Linked DNA regions of Homo sapiens: region 2 is linked to region 1. The links are contacts of gene promoters, found by promoter capture Hi-C in blood cells and fetal thymus (Javierre and others, 2016). All regions are on one chromosome and are shown on one strand. Each heading gives the region's core, a stretch centred on a gene start or on the middle of the fragment in contact. The rest is flanking DNA. Distances are from core to core; before and after follow the strand shown. Region 1 holds the start of ZSWIM7 (zinc finger SWIM-type containing 7). Region 2 has its middle 6.7 kb from the start of LINC02087.

The links. The method cuts DNA at HindIII sites, captures the fragments that hold promoters and counts their contacts. A CHiCAGO score of 5 or more calls a contact.
Region 2: a contact is called between a fragment that was not itself captured here and the fragment with the promoter of ZSWIM7 in region 1, in 6 of 17 cell types (naive CD4 T cells, erythroblasts, total CD4 T cells and 3 more). The highest score is 6.4, in naive CD4 T cells.

The regions. Positions count from the first base shown.
Region 1 is chr17:15,994,866-16,001,638 of GRCh38, reverse strand. ZSWIM7 (zinc finger SWIM-type containing 7) reads left to right here and starts at 1,935. Exons shown (of 5, transcript NM_001042697.2): 1 at 1,935-2,120. The coding sequence starts at 2,045. TTC19 (tetratricopeptide repeat domain 19) reads right to left here and starts at 1,815. Exons shown (of 10, transcript NM_017775.4): 1 at 1,607-1,815; 2 at 1,394-1,521. The coding sequence starts at 1,790. RefSeq lists silencers at 1,462-1,851, 2,202-2,361 and an enhancer at 1,972-2,061. The HindIII fragment of the contact is 18,071 bases long and covers 65-6,773 here.
Region 2 is chr17:15,821,037-15,827,809 of GRCh38, reverse strand. No RefSeq gene overlaps it. Among named protein-coding and RNA genes, the nearest start is that of LINC02087, 6.7 kb to the right of the region's middle. The HindIII fragment of the contact is 2,273 bases long and covers 2,563-4,835 here.

The sequences.
Region 1 (6,773 bases), core at 686-3,185:
CTTGTCCTCCATCCTCTTTCTAATTTCTTGCAGGCTGGAGGTGACCATATAGGACAAGTAAGCTTAATTACAACTAATGATAAGAGCTATAAAGATGACAGAAAGGAATGATAAGGGGTCTCCTCTAAATAGGACTTAGGGAAGCCTTCCAAGGAAGTGACAGCTAAACTGAGGTAGTAAGGATGAGAATGAGTCAACCAAATAAGGACCTGGGGAGAACAATGACTCAAACAGAGGGTAGAGAATGAGTGAAGTCCCTACAAGCTGAAGAGAATGGTTTTGAGGAAGAAATGCAAAGAAATAGATGTGAAGGGAGGATGGTGAGCCAGAGGATTACTGCCAAATGGGTGGGCAAGGTATATGCTGGTTTAGATCATGTGGGGTGTTGCAAGCCAAGGCAAGGAGTTTGTATTTTATCATAAATGCAGTGGGTAGCCATTCAGAGCTTTCTGACAAGGAGATGACATAATCCAATTTACTCTTTTTTTTTTTGGTCGCTTTGGTTTCTGCATGGAGAATAGATTGCAAGAGGCCAGGAGGCCAGGAAAGACTACTGGAGCATAGTTGGTGGCAATGATGGTTTGCACTAGGGTGACAGCAAGGGAGATAGACAAAAGGGGAAAGATTTGAGAAATATTTTGCATTTGTTGGCAACAGGACTTGTTGCTGGACTGTAAGTGTATTGGAAGGCAATGGTAAGGTACCACAAGTTTTAAGAATGACTATGAGGTTTTTAGGCTGAAAAACTGATGGTAGTAAAGAGATGGCGAAAGCGTATGTTGAGGAGGCATTAAAGATCGTTTAGTTTTGGGCATGTTAAATCTGAGAGGTAGGTATGGTCCTAAAGTGCAAATGGCATGTCAGTAGCACACTACAGAATGGAAATACAAATTTGGACGTTGTTGGCATCGAGTAGGTATTTAGCTCAATGGAAGAGATGAGATAACTTGGGAAAAGAGGAGGAAAAAAAAATAGAAAAGGATGTGGAGAAAAGGAAGAATTCAGGAGGAGAACCGAACCGCATAACCAACACTAAGTTGCCATTTTCAGGCCGCTATATACGTGCGAAATTATGTCATTTCAGATAGGCTGGTTAATTGATAAAACCACTACAAAACGTTCCCGATATTTCGTTTGCATAAAGCGTGATGCCTAGGGCGCCATCTCCATTTGCACTTGACACTGCAGAGGTTTTACTGCAGGCCTTAGAGTCGGAAAAGCCTGGATGGATTCCAATCCCCTCTCGGATGACCCACCTCATTCTCGGCAATTTTACCCGCGGAGCCTCCATCCACTCTTCGGCGAGGCGGAGAGAGTAATGCGCAGCAACGCCAAGACCCCGCTCACAAAGGCTACCGCGCTCGGCCGGGCGCAGGGCCCGGAGCCGCCTCACCTTGGCTCGCTTCAGCAGCTGGATGATCTCTGCCTCGGCCTCGTCCGCCCCGTCCTCGGCAGCGGCCCCGTCGGCTCCCTGCTGCTCCTCCTCCTCTGCCGCAGCGGGCCTCGAGAACCAGGCGAGCGCTGCGGGAAGGGGCTCTGAGGTCATCGGGCCCGGCCCGCGCCCCTGTCCCCGCCCGGCCGGCCCCGCCCGGCCCGCGCCCCTCACCTGCCAGCAGCGGCAGCAGGCCTGGGCCCCGGCCGTGCGGCGCGACTCGGGATGGCGGCACCTGCACCTCGGGCCCCGGACCTCCTGCCAGCCCCGGGAGCAGGCGCGCGGAGCAGCCCCGGCACCGCCGCCCCGCGGCCCGCAGGAAGCCTCGGCCCAGGCTCCAGCTCAGGAGCCGGAACATGCTCCCGCCGCGTCCTCTGCGCACTGCAGGCCAGACGCGCTCCTGGCCCCCGACCACGCGCCGAGCGCCCTCCGGATTGGCCGGGCCCTGACGACTGAGCAGGACATCCCTGCGTCCGCACGCGCGATGACGCGCCCCGACGTCACTCCGTCTCGCCCTGCCCCGGCGGGGGGTCAGGATCCTCCACAGGTAGGCGCAGTCAGCTGGAGCGTCGCGGCGGTCCGCCGGTCGTGGAGGGCGTGTCCTGCGGCGCGATGGCCGTAGTGTTGCCGGCGGTTGTGGAGGAGCTCCTGAGCGAGATGGCGGCGGCGGTGCAGGAGAGCGCGCGAAGTACGGGACCGAGGTCGTGTGTGGCTGCGCCATGGGCGCGGGCGGGGCATCCGGGCACCGCCGGGCCGGGAGGCAGGAGGCGGGGTGTCCGGGCCTGGCCCTGCCTTTTTTCCATGTGGTTCTCTAAACCTCTTGTTCGTAAAAAGACAAAAAAACAAAACAACAAAAAAGCGAAATTGGAACAAGTAAAAGTCAAATCGATTCAGCAAATATTTACGGTACAGCGCAGTTGCAGGAGCCCCTCCGTCGGAGCGAGTAGGCCAGTGGGGACCGAAGTGCTGAGAGCTGGCCGGGTCGCTGGGAGGGGTCCCCGCCCGGGGGTGGAAGGGACGGGAGCCTACAGTGAGTGATAGAAACGTGGAGTTCTTGATTATTTTACACGAAATTTTGAATTATTAAACTTCTTTTTCTCAAATTCTGATGTTAACATTAAAGTTAATGCTTCCATACACTTTAAAAAGTAGGCCCAGCGCAGTGGCTCACTCCCGTAATCCCAGCACTTTGGGAGGCCGAGGCAGTTGGATTACCTAAGGTCAGGAGTTCGAGACCAGCCTGGCCAACATGGTGAAACTTCGTCTCTACTAAAAATACAAAAAATTAGCTGGGCGTGGTGGCGGGCGCCTGTAATTCCAGCTACTCAGGAGGCTGAGGCAGGAGAATCGCTTGAACCCGGGAGGCGGAGGTTGCCGTGAGCCGAGATCGCGCCATTGCACTCCAGCCTGGGCAACAAGAGCGAAATTCCATCTCAAAAAAAAAAAAAAAAGCATTTTAAGAGCCACAAAACCTAAATGCATATGCAATCGTTGGAGTAAATCTGGGTATTGTGAAAGCACCATTTTTTTTCTGACCAGCAGAGGGTACTCTTTGGCTATGCTCACCAAAATCACTTGAGAAGGGTTGATCTCAAGATGTGTTCAGAGTATGCTAGGATAAGATCAAATCAAATTTGATATACTCAAAATGCATTGACTAATGAACTACTCTTAGGATGTAAAAATGGCCACCTTATAAATAACAGCCATATCAGGCCCCCAAACTGCCATCGCTTATTCAACTTGGATGGCTTTTGTTTTAAAAGTACTGTACTGCATTTTGAAAGGGTTTATCTTGAGTTACTGTTTTTAAGGAACTGAGAAAAATAAGCCAACTTTGTTTCCTCATCTCAGTCAAAATTAAGGAGACTTAAGTATATGTGCTTGAAAGATTAGTGCAGCCAAGTATTCAAACATACTTGTTTCCAAAAAGGATGGGAAAAAAGCCAACTGATGTTAGCTTATACAATTGTTCTGGGCTCTCAGATTTGATGGCCTGAGGGTTTGGAATGCTGTCACTTTAAACAATAATCGCCAGAACTGTTCTGTGTCTGAATAGGTTAATCCATACACTGACAGTAGTTTGGGTTGGTTTGTTTTTTTTTTTTAGACAGAGTCTTGCTCTGTCTCCCAGGCTGGAGTGCAATGGGCGATCTCAGCTCAGTGCAACCTCCGCTTCCCAAGTTCAAGTGATTCTCCTGCCTCAGCCTCCCAAGTAGCTGTGACTACAGGCGCATGCCACCACACCCGGCTAATTTGTGTATTTTTAGAAGAGACGGGGTTTCACCATATTGGCCAGGCTGGTCTCAAACTCCTGACCTTGTGATACGGACACCTCAGCCTCCCAAAATGCTGGGATTACAGGCGTGAGCCACCGTGCCCAGCCAGTTTTGGGTTTTTTCCCTCCAACAAGAAGGTTCACAAGACACATTGACAGTCCTGAAGGGGGCATAATCATTGCCCCTGACACCCATGGTTCAGACACAGGAACCAATGCTGTTGATTCATGTTTATTTTCAGAAGCCCTGTTTTCTGTCTTTTTCAAAATCTTTTTTCTATTAATATATAGTTATGCACCCTTCCTAACCCCCATTCTTCAGTGGTAATTTTTTTAGATCAAGATTCCAAGTTTTATTTGTATGATGATATATAAACTAGTCACAGTGGAACCATGTAGGAAGCTATGATTACTTTTTGTTTTCTTTGTAACTTTTGGATTTCCCTGGAGTTACAACTATCTTGGTTTTGTTTATGTGCTTATTTAGTTTTTTACATATTTATTCCTACTTTAACCTCACATCCTTTACTAGTGTTCTCAATCTCCCCTCAAGATGTTCAGATGAACGAAGTATGTTATCAGTTTCACCTTCCTGAAGACATCTCTAGAGCCTTCGGACTTGCTTAATATGGACTGGCTGATCTCTCGGCTGTTTGCTGAGATCTCTCTTAACCATTATTATCTGGGAATTCTCTGTATCTTTGTTGGGTCCTATGTTTAGTATATCCTACAGTTTTCTTTTTCTCAGTTTACTACCTCTTTTTTTTTTTTTTGAGACAGTCTGTCACCCAGGCTGATGTGCAATAGCATGATCAAAGCTCACTGTAGCTTTGACCTCCTAGGCTCAGATGATCCTCCCACCTCAGCCTCCCAAGTGAGTATCTGGGACTGCAGGCACACAATACCACAGCTGGCTAGTTTTTTGTATTTTTTGTAGAGACAAGGTCTCACTATGTTGCCTAGGCTGGACTCGAAGTCTGGAGCTCAAGAGGTCCACCTGCCTTGGCTTCCCAAAGTGCCAGGATTACAGGCATGAGCCACCGCACCCGGCCCATGTAAAATTTTTTTTTTTTTTTTCGAGACAAGGTCTTGCTCTGTCACCCAGGCTGGAGTGCAGTGGCACAATCATAGGTCACTGCTCCCTCAACCTCCCAGGCTCAAGAGATCCTCTTGTCTCAGCCTCCTGAGTAACTGGTACCACAGGTGTGCACCACCATGCCCAGCTAGTTTTTGTATTGTTTGTAGAGACGGGGTTTCACTGTGTTGCCCAGGCTTACTACCTTATATTATGGCACACAGACTCTGCCAGCTTCCTGAAGAAGGGGGCATGAGATGTACCTTTTGAGGCTTTCTTTTCTATTTTTTGAGACCGGGTCTCACTCTGTTCCCCAGGCTAGAGTACAGTTGCGCAATCACACCTCATGCCCAGCTGATTATTTTATTTTCTGTAGAGACGGGTCTTCCTTTGTTGCCCAGGCTACTCTGGAACTCCTGGGCTCAGGCGATCCTTCTGCCTTGGCCTCCCAAAGTGCTGGGATTATAGTTGTGAGCCCCCACACCGGCCCCTGTTTGAGGCTTATGTCTGAAAAAGTTGTGGGGTTTTTTTGTTTTTTTGGGTTTTTTTTGAGACGGAGTTTCGCTCTTGTTGCCCAGGCTGGAGTGCAATGGTGCAATCTCTGCTCACCGCACCCTCTGCCTCCTGGGTTCAAGGGATTCTCCTGCCTCAGTCTCTCGAGTAGCTGGGATTACAGGCATGCGCCACCATGCCCGGCTAATAGTTTTTCTATTTTTAGTAGAGATACTAAATGTTAGTCAGGCTGACCATCGCGCCCGGCTGAAAAAGTTCTTTTTCTGCCCTTACACTTAAGTGATTGTTTGTCTAGGTATTGAATTATTTGTTGGAAATAATATTTCTTCAGACATCTGAAAACATTTTTCCACTACATCTTAGCTTCTAGTGTTACTCCTGATTTTTGTATGTGACCTTTTTTTTCTCTGGAAGTTTGAATTATGTTTTCTTCATAACCAGTGTTCTGAATCTTCTGATAAAGTTTTTTTTTTTTCACTTCACAGTGTGGGCACACAGTGGGCCCTTTCAAGCTAGAAATTCATGTCCTTCAGCTGTGGGGAATTTTGAATTATTTGATTGATGAATTCCCTCCATCTGTTTTCTCTGTTCTTTCCGGTATTTCTGTAATTAAGTTACTGGATGTCCTCTGTTGTCCTTCTGGTTGACTTACTGTGGCTTCTGTGTTGCTTTTATATTTTCTCTACTTCCTGGGAACTTTCTTGAACTTTATCTTCCAGATTTTCTGTTGAATTTCTGCTGTCTTTTTTTTTTTTTTTTTTTTTTAAGAGACAGGGTCTTGCCGGCCACAGTGGCTCATGCCTGTAATCCCAGCACTTTGGGAGGCCAAGGTGGGCAGATCATCTGAAGTCGGGAGTTCGAGACCAGCCTGATCAACATGGAGAAACCCCGTCTCTACTAAAAAAATTAGCTGGGCGTGGTGGTGCATGCCTGTAATCCCAGCTACTCTGTAGGCTGAGGCAGGAGAATTGCTTGAACCCGGGAAGTGGAGGTTGCGGTAAGCCGAGATTGCGTCATTGTACTCCAGCCTGGGCAACAAGAGCGAAACTCCGTCTCAAAAAAAAAAAAAAGAGAGACGGGGTCTTACTGTGTTGCCCAGGCTGGCCTCAGACTCCTGGTTTCAAGCAATCTTCCTGCCTCAGCTTCCCAAGTAACTGAAACTACAGAGACATACCATGTATTTTTAATTTATAACTTTTTTTCAGAAGATTCCCTTTTTCTTCTTATTATGCCTTCTGCCTGTTTTTGTGCCTGTTTTATGATTGCATTAACTTTTTTCTGATGATAAAATATTAGTAATAGATGTTTAAAATTTTCTCCTTTCTGCAGTTTTTCCTCTAACTTTCTTCTGTTTGTTTTATTCTATTTCCTTTTTCCTTTGTTGTCTGGTAACCCTTGGCTGTCTAGTCATATTTCAGAGTGGAAGACTAAAAAGTATATTGGAAGCTCTGGGTGGTAGAGGGGCTTACGGAATA
Region 2 (6,773 bases), core at 2,450-4,949, 180 kb after region 1:
ACCAGGGAGTCAGAAGTTGCAGTGAGCCGAGATTGCGCCACTGTACTCCAGCCTGGTGACAGAGTGAGACTCTGTCTTAAAAAACAAAAAACAAAAAATTAGCCAGGTGTGGTACCAGGCGCCTGTAACCCCAGCTACTTGGGAGGCTGAGGCAGGAGTATCGCTTGCACCCTGGAGGTGGAGGCTGCAGTGAGCCATTGCACTCCAGCCTGGGCAACAAGAGTGAAACTCCATCTAAAATAAATAAATAAAAATAAAAAGGAACGCAGCAAGAAGATATAACAATTATAAATTTATATAAACCTAATAGCAGGATCCCAAAGTATATTTTTAAAAATTGACAGAATGAAAGGGAGAAATACTCTTACACTAATACTAGGACATTTCAATACTTCACTTTCAATAATAGAACAACCAGACAGATCAATAAGAAAATACAGGACTTGAACAACACTACAAACCAACTGGACACAACAGACACATACACAACACTCCACCCCACAACAGGAGAATACACATTCCTCTCAAGTGCACATGGTACGTTCTCCAGGATAGACCACATGTTAGGCCACAAAACAAACCTTAACACATTCTTAAAAATTTAAAATAATTCAAAGTATCTTTTCTGATCACAATGTTATAAAACTACAAATCAATAACAGAAGGAGAACTGGAAAATTCACACATGTGGAAATTAAACACACTCTTTCTCAACTGGTCAAAGAAGAAATGACAAGGGAAATTTGAAAATATCTTGAGACAAAGGAAAATGAAAAGGCAACATGCCAAAAGTTATGGGATACAATAAAACAATGTGAAGAGGGAAGTTTATGTAAACGCATACACTGAAAAAGAAGAAACATAACCAGATCATAACCTAATTATACACCTTGAGGAAATAGAAAAGGAAGAGCAAACCAAACCCAAAGCTAGCAGATGGAAATAATGATTACAGCAGAGATAAACAACATACAGATGGAAAAACAATAGAGAAAATCAACAAAACCAAAAGCTAGCTCTTTAAAAGATCAACAAAATTAGCAACACATTAGCTAGACTAATAAAAAGACTCAAATTATCAAAATCAGAAATGAAATTTGTTAAGAAAAAGAGAAAACTCAAACTATCAAAATCAGAAAGGAAATTTACTAAGAAAAAGAGAGAAGACTCAAATTATTAAAATCAGAAGTGAAATTGGAAACAGTATTACTTATTTTATGAAAATAAAAAAGATTATAAGAGAATACTATGAACAGCAGTATACCAATAAATTTTATAACCTGGATAAAATGGGCATATTCCTAGAAACACACAATCTACCAAAACTGACACATTAAGAAACAGAAAATCTGAATAGACCTACAACTGGTGAGGAAGTGAGGAGACTGAATCAGTAATAAGAAACCTACTGGCCGGGTGTGGTGGCTCACACCTTTAATCCTAGCACTTTGGGAGGCCGAGGCGGGCAGATCACTTGAGGTCGGGAGTTCAAGACCAGCCTGACCAACATGGAGAAACCCTGTCTCTACTAAAAATACAAAAATTAGCCAGGTGTGGTGGCACATGCCTGTAATCCCAGCTACTCAAGAGGTTGAGGCATGAGAATCGCTTGAACCCGGGAGGCAGAGGTTGCAGTGAGCCGAGATTGTACCATTGGACTCCACCCTGGGCAACAAGAGCAAAACTTTGTCAAAAAAAAAAAAAAAAAAAAAAACAATGACAAGCACAAGACCAGATTGCTTTACTAGTGAACCCCACCAAAACATTTAAAGAATCAACTCTAATTCTTCTCAAACTCTTCCCAAAAATCAAAGAGGAGGGAACACTTCCTAACTCATTCTATAAAGTCAGCATTACACTGATACCAAAGCCCAATGAAGCCATCACAAAAAAGAAAATTACAGACCAATATGCCTTAAGTATTTAGATGCAAAAATTCTCAATAAAATATTAGCAAAGTGAACCCAACAGCATATCAAAGAAATTATTCACCATAACCAAGTGGAATTTATTCCTGGAGTGCAAAGATGGTTCAACATAAAAAAAACAATCAGTAAAATGCACCACATTAAAAAAATTAAAAGGCCAGGCATGGTGGCTCATGCCTGTAATCCCAGCACTTTGGGAGGCTGAGGCGGGTGGATCATGAGGTCAGGAGATCAAGACCATCCTGGCTAACATGGTGAAACCCCATCTCCACTAAAAATACAAAAAATTAGCCGGGTGTGGTGGCGGGTGCCTGTAGTCCCAGCTACCTGGGAGGCTGAGGCAGGAGAATCGCTCAAACCCAGGAGGCAGAGGTTGCAGTGAGCCGAGATTGCACCACTGCACTCCAGCCTGGGTGACAGAGTGAGACTCCATCTCAAAAAAAAAAGGAAAAAAATTACAGAAAAAACTATGTTCATCTCAGTTGATGCAGAAAAAACAATTTAAAAAATCCAATACTTTTTCATGATAAAAACACAAGAAACTAGGGTAGAAAGTAACTTCCCTATCATGATAAAGGCCATATTTGAGAATCCCACAGCTAACAACATTCTCAGTGGTGAAAGAGTGAAAGCTTTCCCCTAAGATCAGGAACAAGATCAGGATGCACACATGTCACTTCTCTTCAACATAGCCAGAGCACTTATGCAAGAAAAAGAAATAAAGATATAAACATTGGAAAGGAGAGCATAAGAATATCTCTGTTCACAGACAACATAATCTTCTATGTAAAAAACACTAACAATTCCACTCAATGGGGAAAAGGACAGTCTCTTCAACAAATTACGCTGGAAAAACTGGCTATCCATGTGCGTGAATGAAGCTGAATCCTTATCTGACACCATATACAAAAATTAACTCAAAATGGGCTACAGGCTAAAACTATAAATGTTTTAAAAGAAAACACAGGAGAAAAATCTCCATCAACTGAATTTGGAAATGATACTTTGGATATGGCAACAAAGGCACAGACAATGAAAGAAAAAAATTAGATAAATTGAACTTCATGAAAATTATAACTTGTTTTAATTTTAATAGGACCAAAGGATACTACTGAGAGAGTAAAAAGACAAGTCACAGAATAGAAGCAAATATTTGCAAATATTAAAACTCAACAGTAAGTAGTGTGCAAAATGAAATTAAGGGCTGTAAAAAACAATACTGAATAGGCAAAGTACTTGAGAGTTGTTAGTTGGCTCAAGAAATCTAGAGAGAAGTGGAAGTTCAAAGAACGTGGGTGGTGTTGTGTGTCTGGACTAGACCGTGGGCTTCCTGAGGCCAGGGACTCTGCCATATATACGCATGGTAGGCTCTCTGGCAGTATTTGTTGGGTGGATGCATAGGTGACTAGGACATTCCAACTGGAACGCAGGTTGGACCCATACCGCAAACAGTCTTCATTGCTAAGTAAGAGTATCCAGAATATATTAGTATCCAGAATATATTAATATAAAGAATGCTTATAACAGAATAACGAAAAGACAAATTTCAAGAGACATTTTACCATAAAAGACATATGACTGGACAACAAGCACATGAAAAGATGCTCAACATCATTTGTCACTAGGGAAATGCAAACCCAAACCACACTGAGATACCACCTCATACCCCCTGGGAAGGCTAGAGTGAGAAAGATGGTCAATAACAAGTGTCAGTGAAGATGTGGAGAAATCGGAACCCTCGTGCACGAAGTAAATTATAAAATAGTGCAGCTGCTCTGGAAAGCAGTTTGGCAGGTCCTTAAAATGCTAAATGTAGAATTATCATATGACCCAGTAATTCCACTTCTAGGTATCCATCTACTCAAGAGAAATGAAACATGTTCACCCAAAACTTGAACCCAAAAGTTCATGGAGGCATTATTAACAATCACAGTGACCAAAAAAGTAGAAACAACCCAAATGTCCATCCACCGATGACTGGAAAAGCCATATGACATATCCATAAAGTGGAATGTTACTTAGCCACAAAACTGAAGCAAGTACTGATACCTGCTACAACATGGACAGCCCTTGAAAACATTATGCCAAGTGGAAGAAGCTAGTCACAATACATCACATATTGTATGATTCCATTTATGGAAAATGTCCAAAACAGGCAAATCTATAGAGACAGATAATAAATTAGTGGTAGCCTAGGGTAGGGGAGGAATGAAGATTGACAAGGTTTCTTTTTGGGGTGATCAAAATTAGTTCTAAATTAGTTCTAAAAATATGTTCTAAAATTAGTTAGGGTGATTGTTGCATAACTGTGTAAATACACTAAAAAACAGACTTGTACACTTTACACAGGTGAACTTTATGGCATGGAAATTACATCTTAAGAAAACTGCTTACTCGAGGGGAGGCGAGAAGGGAGCAGTTGGTGGACAAAGAGGGAAAAAAGACTTTATTAATAATCTTTCAATACATTCTGAGTTTCAAATCATCTGACTATATTATCTATTCAAAAGCAAATCTAAAATCAAAGGATCAAACAAAATTAAAAACAGACTCCTAATTCTCCCCCAGTTTGGGCTGGGGAGTGGAGAAGGAGGGAGCTACCACCCACCCTGCCATAGTGTGAAGCAGTGGCTGAGTAAAGTCCGGCAGTGGATCCTATGTGACAAGGGCAGCCTTGGGGAGGCTCCAGGGCCCATTCATGGCCTGGAAGCCACCAAAGCCACCGGACCTGAGGGGGAGATAATGCCCGACTGACCTGATGGCAGATGCCCAACTGATCAGAGAAGCTGTCCATGCCCTTCCTCCTCTACTGCTATCTCAACCTACATAAAATCCCAGAACCCCCATCAAGCCCAAAGAGGAGCATGAAAACCCTAAGACTGACACCAGCCAGGTGGAGTAGAAGCTTGAGGGAGAAGCTCCATTAACAGAAAGGGAAGAAAGGGAATTCCTCTCTGACACTAGCTCTGTGGGCTGGGCTCACACCCTGGACTACCGCAGACTGGGATGTAGCACGGAGACTCTTTCCTGCACCCTGAGACCAGAGAGCAGCCAAGGAGGGTGATTCTCAGAGCTCTCTACTTGTGCCTCCTCACACACTTGGCCGGTTAACAGGTGTTGCACCAAGAAAGAGCTCTGTGGTCAATTAGCTTGAAAAATGCTGGGTTAAAGAAAGTCAAAAAATTTTTTTAACTGCAGGACTTCTCAGAGCCTTTTCTTGTGACTCTTCAAGAGGGAGTCTGGCAGGTTCAAAGCACTTTTGTGTTTTTGAGGGATATCTAATAGGAAAGACAGTCTTCTTCATTTTACAGCTGAGGGGAAGTGGCTCAGCCAAGGTCCCAGAGGGGGTCAATGAACAACTGGCCAGGGCTGATTTGGCAGCACCAGACAGCTTCTGCCACTGCCAGGTCACAGTTCTGGCTGGGTTCTGACTCGTGGTGCCAGAGCACTGGGCAATTTCATCCTGTGTCGAGGCAGCCTCTGGTCACTGCCTTATCCAGCTCGCTCAGAAACTGTATGTATTTGAGCCCCTGGTCGGGTACATGTCTGGGATATGGGTGGTGAGCACAAAAGATGATCAGAGAAAAGATTTGCTCCCCGCCTGGGGTGTGGGGACAGAGCAGCAGGGAAAGGCTGTGAATCTAGGCTGTCTCCGGGGTCCATCTGGCGGTGGGTTCCATCTGCACAGCGAGGCACCTGCAGTTTTCCCCTCAATCTGTTGAATGTAAATCAGCTGCAACCCCTCCCAGCCCCGTGCCTGCACCTCGGGTCTCAGGAGCCCAGGTGGGTGGCTGGGGTCTAGGCTCCTAGCATCCCATGAGGCACTGCCCACCAGTGCGCACAGAGCAGTGGAAGGCCTGCCTGGCCCTGGGATAAGGTATCAACTATGGGATGGCCCGAGTCTTCAAGATCTGGCCTTGGTCAAACCCTTGGTCCTGATCTCCTGCCCCCCCTCCGCCACACACCCAAGGCCAGCTCTCCAGCCTCCCAGCATCACTCAGGCCTTTCCTTTTTCCTGGACATACTTATTCATTGCCTGGTCAGCTCCTCCTGCTCCTCCTTCAAGGTTCCACTGAGGTGTCACCTCCTCCAGGAAGCCATCCCTGACTTCCCCAGCCCAAGTCAGGTGGTGTTCATTCTCTGTGTCTCGTTTGTCCTGTCCAACATCTAGCAGAGCACTTGAGAGGCTGAACCCCAGGGCCAGACAGCCTGGGTTTGACCCTGCTGCACACCAGCGGAAGGCCTTGGTAGCAATTTATGAAACTCCTCTGTGCCTCTGTGTTCTCTGTGTAAAAGTGGATGAGAACATTGCCCATCTCACAGGTGGTTATGAGCATGAAGTGAGGGAGCACAGTTACATTCTTAGAGCAGATTCTTGGCACACAGCAAGTCCTCAATACAGGCCGTGGAGGATGAACATTATGGCCCATATTGCACTGCATGGCAACTGCACTCCTCTGTCTTCCCCATCCTCTGAAACCTCCCAGGGGATGGGAAGCCCAGCAACTGTCAAAGGTGGAGTGAGAGGAACGTAAAAGCCAAAGAAAGCCCATGGGCCCTTAGGAAGAAACTGAAGGACAAGGAGGACGCGGGCAGGTGGAGAGGAAGGAGGGAGGCTCCGGGAAGCAGCTGGAGCAGGGTGATAGTGCACAGAGCAGGAGAGGAGATGCAAATGGTCAGGAAACACAGGAAAATGTCCAGTCTACCAAAAATCAGAAAAACAACTGAACAATGAAAAATTCCCAGCTCATAATTATAGAATAGTCCATACAAAGAAAAACACTAAAATGAAAATAAAGATAATATTTAAAAAATTTTTTGTGTAGCTGGCATTACATTGAGGAC